Linked DNA regions of Homo sapiens: region 1 is linked to region 2. Evidence: promoter capture Hi-C in human tissues and cell types (Jung and others, 2019). All regions are on one chromosome and are shown on one strand. The core of a region is centred on a gene start or on the middle of the fragment in contact, and the rest is flanking DNA. Distances in the headings are between cores, read along the strand shown.

Region 1 (5,003 bases), core at 1,598-4,097, 180 kb after region 2:
AGAGAAGGCCTGGCTCTGTCAACCAGCCTTGAGTGCAGTGGCATGCTCTCAGCCTCCACCTCCTGGGCTCAAGCCATCCTCCCACCTCAGCCTCCCGAGTAGCTGGGACTACAGGCACACACCACCACACCCAGCTAATTTATTTTTTATAGAGATGGGGTTTTGCCACGTTGTCCAGGCTGGTCTTGAACTCCTGACCTCGAGTGATCCACGCCTTGGCCTCCCAAAGTGCTGGGATCATGGGCATGAGCCACTGCACCCAGCCACAGGCCTGCTCTTTGTCCTGGAGAGAGACGTTATCTCCTCCCTCAAGGTTACTCATCACAAACAACTCTGAGAAATGGCCCAATTCATTGGTAAAGACCAATTAGGGCTTTGTGTTCTTGGTGTACACAATAAGAAAATGTGGGCCGGGCACGGTGGCTCACGCCTGTAATCCCAGCACTTTGGGGAGGCCGAGGCGGGCGGATCACGAGGTCAGGAGATCGAGACCATCCTGGCTAACACGGTGAAACCCCATCTCTACTAAAAATACAAAAAATTAGCCAGGCGTGGTGGTGGGCGCCTGTAGTCCCAGCTACTCGGGAGGCTGAGGCAGGAGAATGGCATGAACCCGGGAGATGGAGCTTTCAGTGAGTGGAGATCACGCCGTTGTACTCCAGCCTGGGCGACAGAGTGAGACTCTATCTCCAAGAAAGAAAAAGAGAATGTGAAGACACTCAGGGCCTGTGGTGATTGTGTCTTTCAGCAGATAGCTTGAAGGAAGAAGTGAGCAATGTCTTACTCTGGCAATATTTTGTGACTAATGCAATTCATTTTTTCTTCTCTCCAGGAATTATTAGACCAATTACAACAAAAGCTGTATCTTATTCAAATGATTCCTCGTCAAAATTTATTTACCAAGAACTTAACACCTATGAACTATAATATATTTTTTCACTTGTTAAAGCACTGTTTTGGGAGGCGCAGCGCCACTGTAATAGACCACTTACGGTGAGTAAAAAGAATAAAAGCAAGTATAAAGTAGCAACGATGCACAAATTATTCTTTCATGCTAGAGATCTATTTTTATATCTTGATTGACAGAGTGAGGTACCATGTTTTCCCTCATATTTCTTCAAAATAATTTGTTCTCCCTGGTGTACATTTTGAGGAAAATATATTTTTCCCATAATCTCTCATTGAGTTTCATTTATTTTTCCTTCTTTAAAAAAATGCCCAGATTGTTTAATCTTTTTGAGAGTATGGGCTTAGCTTTATCTTACAGGAAGCACTAGCTGCCTACCACTAGTGGGGTGGAGAGAAATCAGCATTACTGGAGGCGTGCCCACACTTACCTCTCATTGCTTGTCTTCAGTGGTTCTGTTCCTTAACCAGAGTAGGGATAGATAATTATACCACCCTGGTTCCCTTGCTCTGGATCAAATTTTGTTTTTACCCAAAGCTTTGTAAAAATAATAGCTTGTAAGTAACACTACTTGCTTTATGTCTATATAAGTGAAAAACATTTTTTTGTTGTTGTTAGAGACAGGGTCTCGCTGTGTTGTCCAGGCTGAAGTGTAGTGGCACAGTCTCAGCTCACTGCAGCCTTGTCCTCCCAGGCTCAAGTGATCCTCCCACCTCAGCCTCCTGAGTAGCTGGGACTACAAGCATGCACCACCACGCCCGGCTAATTTTTATATTTGTAAAAATATAAAATTTTTATATTTATATTTTGTGTTTATAAATTGTATGCCAATTTTTGTAGAGATGGGGTTTTGCCACCTTGCCCAGGCTGGTCTCAAATTCCTGGCCTCAAGCAATCCACCTTGCTTGGCCTCCCAAAGTGCTGGGGTTACAGGCATGAGCCACTGCACCTGGCCATCCATGTAATTTGTATGTAGGGCTGATGCACACACCTCTGTAAGTAGTGCTGGGGTTACAGGCGGGAGCCACCATGCCTGGCCATCCATGTAATTTGTGTGTAGGCCTGATGCCCACACTTCTGTAAGTACAGCTCAGGTTACCAGCATGAGCCACTGCGCCTGGCCATCTATGTAATTTGTATGTAGGGATGATGCATACATCTCTGTAAGTAGTGTTGGGGTTACAGGCATGAGCTCCCGCGCCCAGCCATCTGTGTAATTTGTACATAAATCCATGTAATTTGTATGTAGGGCTGATGCATACGTCCCTGTAAGTTGTGCATTATGCCTTGTAATCAGCAGCCCATAGTCATTCAAAGTCTCGCCAGAGGATGGGTAAAATGTTAAAATAATTATTTTAACAAATTTGATCATTTAATATTTAACTCTGAATGAGCTGTTGACTAGACAATATTTATCTAAAAATAAATGTTAAAAGTGGCAATAGCCTGGGTGCAGTGGTTCATGCCTGTAATCCGAGCATTTTTGTGAGGCCAAGGTGGGAGGATCACTTGAGGAGGCCGGGGATTGGAGGCTGTAGTGAGCCATAAACTCACCACTGCATTGCAGTGTGGGACACAGAGCAAGCTGACCTTGTCTCTAAAAAAAAAAAAAAAAAAAAAATTGGGAGGCAGAGAGCGCCAACAAGACTTTGAGATGAGCCTGGGTGACAGAGCAAGACTCTATCTCTAAAAAAAAAAAAAAAAAAAAGTGGTAATAGACTAGTAAAAGGCAATAGACTAATAAAAGGCAATCTATTATTTTTCATCTTGCCACCTTGTGGCTATTTTGAATGAAAATATCAAGAAAATAGGGAAATAAGGAATAAATGTTGTAAATCATAGTGCAAAATATTAAAAATGCTCCTGGTAATCTCAGTGGACTAGAAACATGTTACCAAGATTCTATTCAATATCAAAAAGTATTGGAATTGAACAGACAGAGAGTCTCACTCTGTTGCCCAGTCTGGAGTACAGTGGCACAATCATAGCTCACTGCAACCACAAACCCCTTGCTCAAGTGATCCTGCCTCAGCCTCTTCCCTGAGTAGCTGGGACTACTATGCCCACCACTATGCCCAGCTAACTTTTTACGATTTTTGTAGAGATGGGGTCTCACTATGTTGCTCAGGATAGTCTTGAACTCTTGGGCTCAAATGATCCTCCCACCTAGCCCCCCAAAGTGCTGGGATAACAGGTAGGAGCCACCGCACCCAGCCCAAAATATTTTTTTACAATTGTTGTTGTTGGAGGCTTATTGATGGTTTGTTGCTAAGCTGATACACAGTTATGTACCTCATATTATGGTATATAATATACCTCATTGATTATATATTGTATATATATTATATAATATACCTTATATATATAATACCTCATAATGAGGCGTGTTCGTTATACCTCGTTTCAGTCAGTAGTGGACCAAATGTACAATAGTGGTCCCATAAGATTATAAAGATGCTGTATCTTTTACTGTATCTTTTCTATTACTTACCATTGTGTTACAGTTGCCTACAGTATTCAGTACAGTAACATGCTGTGCAGGTTTGTATCCTTGGAGCAATAGGCTATGCCATATATCCTAAGTCTGTAATAGGCTATATCACATAGGTTTGGGTTAAGTACTCTGTAAGATGTTCAAGCAACAATGAAATCACCTAACAGTGCATTTCTCAGGACATACCTCCATCATTAAGCAATGCATGACTGTATAAGGAAGTTTGCGGCTTTATAATGTATTTACCAATGATGGTTACATCAAAATGTGAAAAATGATTCCCTCTTTGTAAACTGCCAAACAGCAACTTCTGCTGTTTATAGTTACTGAACTTTGACATGAACCAAAAGAAGTTAAGAATATTTTTTGCAGAAAGGAAAAGGATGAAAGAGGTAGGCATAATAATTTTTTCAAACGGCAGTGATTAAACTAGAATTCGGTGTAAAAATTGATTAGAGTATGTGAAAGCCTAAACCTGCTATTAATATTTTCATTATAGGTTAGCTATGAAACTTTAGAAATAAGCATAAAGTTACTGGAAGCTCTTAAACTAAATAAGATTGCTTATATATAATAAGTTAGGCTTTTTTTTTTCTTCTTATTTCAATAGCCTTAGGAATACAAGTGATTTTTTTGGTTTCATGGATGGATTGTTGAAGTCTGGGCTTTTAGTGTACCCATGCCCAAATAGTGTACATTGTACCCAGTAGGTAGCTTTTTATCCTTCACCCTCCTCCCATCCTTCACCCTCCTCCCATCCTCTTCCCTGCTGATTCTCCCGTGTCCATTATAGCACTCTGTATGCCTAAGTTAGACATTTTGAATTCAACTTAGAAGCCATTTCTGTCACCGTGAACTGATAGATGCATGAGAAAGAATTAAGTACATTTACTTTGTATTTCTTTTGCAGTTCATTGACTCCACTTGATGCGAGAGATATATTGATGCAAATAGGAAAACAGGAGGATGAGAAAGTAGTTAACATGCACCCTCAAGACTTCAAAACACTTTTTGAAACTATAGAGCGTTCCAAAGATTGTGCTTATAAATGGCTGTATGATGAAACCCTGGAAGATAGGTAGCAACTAGACTGTCGTTTTTGGTGGAGCGGTTCATTTATTTGGAAACTATGACATGAAAACCAAATTTGAAAACTCACATCCTTTCAGCAGAAGGTAACTGTTCTTGTCTTGCACAAGCCAGGCAGATCATTTCTCCTAAGCTGATATCATTGGCTTATTGGATGAAACAGTGTCTGCTATTTTATTCACAATTGAATAAAATGAAAACTTCAATTAATTGTGGATTTGATCAGATTGAATTCGTTTTGTTTCAGATTCCTATTTAAATATTTCACTTGTACTGTTGCTGATTTTTGCATCTTCTTGAAGAGCAAGAGTCTGTACATTATTAAGCTTAGAAAGTAAGCAAAACTGATTTACTGGTTTGCCTTTCAGTTTGTTGAAATGTATTGTCAAGTACTGTACAATGAAATTGTTTAAATTTTAATATGATTTAAGCTTTTTAGAAATTAAAATATTTTAAATAAGAAGATTTTGTGGTTTCTTTTGGTCTCTAAATACCTAATGAAACATTAAACTG
Region 2 (5,258 bases), core at 2,183-4,682:
TTGCTCTCTGATCCACTCTCCACCTCTCTGCCATGCCCAGCCACACTGGCCTCTGTCACACTCTTCAGTCTTGCCAAGCACACTGGCATCTCAGGACCTTTGTGCCTGCTGTCCCTGGAAAAGTCTCTCCTCAAAAGGTTCATGCAATTTGCTCTCATTTCATTCAGATCTTGGCTCAAATGTCAATTCCTCACAGAAACCTTCCCTGACCATCCATCTAAAAACACCAATATGCCAGGACCTTTTCTCCTTTCTTGGCTTCACTTTTCTTCAAAGCACTTTTCATTACCTCCTATTACAATCCTATTTTTCTGTCTTCCCCAAGAACGTAATGTCCACGAGGGATTTTCTGTTTTGTTCACCATTGTGTCCCAGGTGCCTACAATAGTGCATTTCACATGTGGTAAGCATCAATAAATATTTATTCAATAAATGAGTCGTTTTTTAGTCTTCTTTTTGTGCATTTAAAAAATATATTTACCCAGTAGTACAAGAATATAATTTATAAATAAAAAATATACTAGGGAGACACACTCAAACATTTTTTACCGAAGGGGTATATAGTAAAAAGGAAAGAAAATTCTGACAATCACAGATGTAACCAATCAACAAGCCAGCACACATGCCCTAAGGAGAACGTCATGGAGAGCCTGTCACTCACTCTCTCAGGAGACTTTGGTCATCTCCAGCTGCTCCTCGCAAGAAGAAAAAACTCCCCATATGGGGTTAAGGCCTTCAACCAACAATTCTGTCCTCTGTCCTTATGTTCCTCTGGAATATTTTGCTAGAAATGAATGGATTGTTTGTTCTGATACAAAGAAGGGTTGATTACTTACTGGTCCTACGCAATTGAGGACAACTGTTGCCTGTTTAGCCATTTCATCAAGCGAGGCTGGATTAGCAATATCACAGATGATGATTCCAACTTCAGATGACAGTGTTGGTCTTCCTAAAATAAGAAACAAATGAAGGAAAGTAAATCCCAGTAGAGGATTATATCTTCCTTATCTTCTTTTTACAGTAATCAGTGACAGCAAATTACTAAATACACTGATATGCTGAAAGCTAGCTCTCCTGCTTAGACAAAAGATAAAACTGTTTTTAATCAGGTAATACAAAAGGAAAAAATTATGAGGAAAACTGAGTTAACACTAAGAGTTACTAAAAAACTGACCTTTTAAAAAAAATCGAATCAAAGCGTTGTGTAAATAACAACCCTGTGTAACATGACAATTTCACAATCAAGTTTAAATGCTGAGCAGATAACTATCCAGACTTCCTCTCCAACAAGAAATTTATGTCATAAAATAGTTTCTTGGCCAGGGGCAGTGGCTCAGCACTTTGGAAGGTCAAGGTGCAAGGATCTCTTGACCTCAGGAGTTCCAGACCAGCTTGGGCAACATAGCAAGACCTTGTCTCTACTAAAAAAAAAAAAAAAATTATCTGACATGGTGGCATAGCCTGTAGTACCAGCTACTCAGGAGGCTGAGGCGGTAGAATCACTTAGACACAGAGGTCAAGGCTGCAGTGAGCTGTGATCACGCCACTGTACTCCAGCCTGGGTGGCAGAATGAGAACTTGTCTTTAAAAAAATAAAGTTTCTCATCAACCACTAAACAATTACTATGATCCAATTGTAGGTGATGGAGAGTTTCGGACTGACTGTTAACATCAAAACCATCAGGGCTGGGTGCAGTGGCTCACGCCTGTAATCCCAGCACTTTGGAAAGCCGAGAAGGGTGGATCACGAGGTCAGCAGATCGAGACCATCCTCACTAACACGGTGAAACCCCGTCTCTACTAAAAAAATTAGCAGGGCGTGGTGGCGGGCGCCTCTAGTCCCAGCTACTCAGGAGGCTGAGGCAGGAGAATGGCAAACAAACAAACAAAAAACAAAAAATTAGAACTCTGAGGTGAAAAGCACACGCTATATAAACACACACAGGCTCATAAGAAAATAATTGGAATTAACTGGCTCAACTAAGTGATGCAGGTTTCAATAGGTGAAGGTATATCCCCCCACAATGAAACTTGATTTGGGCATTATATATGATAAGTGACTAGGCTGTACCGGTACGATCTTGCTGAGCCGAAAAAAGAAATGGAAGCATATATTTTCATAGTAAAATTACTTCTGTTGGAAAAATAACGACCAAAAAGCTCTTTGGTCAGAATTACGTGTTGGTAGTGTCAGCACCAAAAGCTGTAGGAGAGTCCAGCCTACGTGGTGTCTTCTGTACATAACCACGAACAAAAGCACTCCGAGCAGGGCATTGTATGAAAGTAGATTAAACAGAAAGAATGTAGTATTTCCAGAACTCTAATGGGTGTCTGTATAAGGGAAATCTACGGGAGTTAATAGCCAAATTTAAAGGCTACGGAGTCGTAAGTCAGATGTCTCCCCAGCCATGAAGGCAGCAGGATCCGTGTGTCTGTCTCCTCTCTGTCCCATCCTGCACCCCAGACTCGGGACAGGTCTTAGCATGGACAACGTCACTCAATAAATATATGCTCCTTCAATGCTTAGAGAATCAATAAATATATGCTACCTGAATGCTTAGATTATCAATAAATATATGCTACCTGAATGCTTAGATTATCAATAAATACATGCTACCTGAATGCTTAGAGAATACGTAAGCGTCTAAACCAGAAATACACACTTTTTATTCTCTGAAGAGGAAGACTGCTGGAGTATTCTTACACACAAAACAAGAAACTAAAACAGAATAGCCACAAAGACACTGTCAGTACAACTCGTAAGCTTGCTCTCCCGTCCTCAAAACACGAGGCAAAGGGAGACTCCGATCTCCAAGAGACCAAAGCCCTCCTCTCCTCTCCGACCAAACATCTAGAAACCCGCAGATTCAACAGGTGCCCCCGCTGCGGGGCAGGATGAAGCAGAGAGAGGGACAACTCAAGTTCTTGACCATTTCGCCAGGGGAGCTCCCCAAACTGAGGCAGAAATGCAAAAAGCGGGAAAGAGGAGAAGGAAAGAAAAAAAAATGTGTGTGTATATTATACACGCACGCGCACACACACATATAGTTAAGGAGGTGGGACAAAGCTATGGCAGTATTTGAAACATCTCTCCCTCTCCTCTTCTTGTCCTCACGCAGGGCTCGGGGACACGTAGGGCGCATCCCTGCGGGAGAAACGCTCGTTTGGGGCGATGCGGGGTCCCCGGCCCAGCCGCCCGCGCAGCCCCGTCCCGCCCCGCCGCTGTACCCAGCTTCAGGGCCGCCTTCTCCAGCACCCGCTGCAGCTTCTCCCGGGAGCGGCCCGCCACGGCCCAGGGCAGGCGGGAGCTCCGCTCCGGGTCCACCTGCTCCCGGGCCACCTCCTCGGTCACGAACTGGCCGGTGAAGCCAGACGCGCCGAACACCACCAGGTGGAAAGGCCTCTGCTCGGTCGCCATGACGAGTCCACAGCGAGCCCAGGCCCCGGGGCGGGTGGAGTCCACGGCGCCTGCGCCTCAGGCAGCGACCCCAGTACCCGGCGCAGCAACGGCCGCCGTCGCCGCAGCCAGCGCGCCGGGCTCCCTTCACCCCGCGCGCGCCGCCGCGCCAGGGCCGCGCCCACGCCCACGCCGCCTCGCGCGGGAGCCGCGGGTGAGCGGCTTGCTTGGGAGGCTTCCGACGGGAGGTTTCCTAGGGCGGTGGCCCTGGGGGCGAGTCCGCTTCCAAGCCTGGCAGGCGCGGACGGCGGCCCCTAATTCCGTGCGGCGGTTTGTTCTGCAGGGCTCTGGCCGCCCCGGGCAGCGCATCTTCTAGCCCTGCTGGAAGCTGGAGGCGGCAGCCGGTTGTCCTTGTTGCACGTGGGGGTGGAGCAAAGAGTGCGAGAAAATCTGCGGATGGCCTCGGGGATGGCCCACCCCGAGAACCCTTGAGCTTGCTTGCTTTCTTCCTTTCTTTCTTCCCTTTTTTCCCTTTCTTTTCTCTTTTCTGTTTTTGAGATGGAGTCTCACTCTGTCGCCCAGGCTGCAGCGCAGTGGCGCGATCTCGATTTACTGCAACCTTCGCCTCCTGGGTTCAAGCGATTCTGCCTCAGCCTCCCGAGTAGCTGGGATTACAGGGGAGCGCCCCCACGCCCTGCTAATTTTTGTGTTTTTAGTAGAGATGGGTTTTCACCTTGTTGGCCAGGCTGGTCTCGAACTCCTGACCTCAGGTGATCCACCCACCTCGGCCTCCCAAAGGGTCGGGATTACACGCATGAGCCACTGCACCCAGCCCATTCCTGATTTTTAAAAACTCTCATTAAAATAGGAATAAATGAATGCTTTTAAAAATTTTGAAATATATGTCTTGCAAAAAAGGTACAGCCAATAACAAATATGTACCCTCAACACAGCTTAAGAAAAATATTCCAGATAGCGAGGCTTCCAGGTATTCATTCCTGAACACATTTCCTTTTGCGTCCCCAAGACGGCCACTTGCCTGAATTTAGTGTTTATTATTCCTATTCCTATCTTTCTGCTTGTTATATATGTATGTATTTATAAATATTATAGTACCGTTTTGCATATTTTGAATATTTTGTAAATGTCAATCCTGCAGCTTTCTTATTTGGTCATGATGTCGTGAACTTATTCCCAAATGATTCAGAATAAAAAAAAATGTCTGTGATACGTGTGTGGAGAGAGGGAGAGAGAGAGAAATACACCAAATTCTACAATGCTTTTGTACAATGTTGTATAGTGCTTTTGTGCAATATAATACAAAGAATGCTACAATAAAATTCTTGTACCTTTCTCCTAAAGCACCTGTGCGAAAGTGTATTGAATATGTGTCAGGAATGAAAATGGTTGGTGCTAGAATATCCATATTTGAGTTATCTCACTGCTCTTTAAAGCACATGCACTAATTTTCGCTCTCAGCGGGATACAAGAATCCTCTTGCTTTACGTGCTTGTCAGCACTTGGTATTCTCAGACTTCATGCTTGTCCATCTGGTGGGTGTAAAGTAGTAAGCATTCAAGTATTTATTAAACACTTAACTATATACTGGGCACTAGGAATAAAGTACTGGGGATATGGCAACAAATAAAGCCCCTGCCCTCAAGAAGTTTACATTCTAGTGGAGTAAACAGTCACTAAAAAATAATCTTACAGAGCCAGGTACAGTGGCATGCACTTTTAGTCCCAGCTACTTGGGAGGCTGAGGCAGGAGGATTGCTTGAACCTAGGAGTTGGAGGTTATAGTGAGCTACACTCCAGCCTGGGTGACAAAGTGAGATATTGTCTCTAAAAAGAAAATAAA

Evidence for each region. Contacts are between HindIII fragments. The study calls those that stand out against the background at their distance.
Region 1: a fragment that was not itself captured here is called in contact with the fragment with the promoter of SCCPDH in region 2 in 1 of the 25 tissues and cell types used here (lymphoblastoid cells).

Annotation. Positions count from the first base shown.
Region 1 is chr1:246,540,511-246,545,513 of GRCh38, reverse strand. TFB2M (transcription factor B2, mitochondrial) reads left to right here. Exons shown (of 8, transcript NM_022366.3): 7 at 833-993; 8 at 4,312-4,953. The coding sequence ends at 4,483. Among named protein-coding and RNA genes, the nearest start is that of LINC01743, 19 kb to the right of the region's middle. The HindIII fragment of the contact is 6,053 bases long and covers 1-5,003 here.
Region 2 is chr1:246,722,583-246,727,840 of GRCh38, reverse strand. It overlaps SCCPDH (saccharopine dehydrogenase (putative)), which reads right to left and starts at 3,432. Exons shown (of 12, transcript NM_016002.3): 1 at 3,229-3,432; 2 at 837-949. The coding sequence starts at 3,418. RefSeq lists silencers at 3,079-3,288, 3,389-3,458, 3,499-3,628 and an enhancer at 3,839-3,998. The HindIII fragment of the contact is 7,574 bases long and covers 173-5,258 here.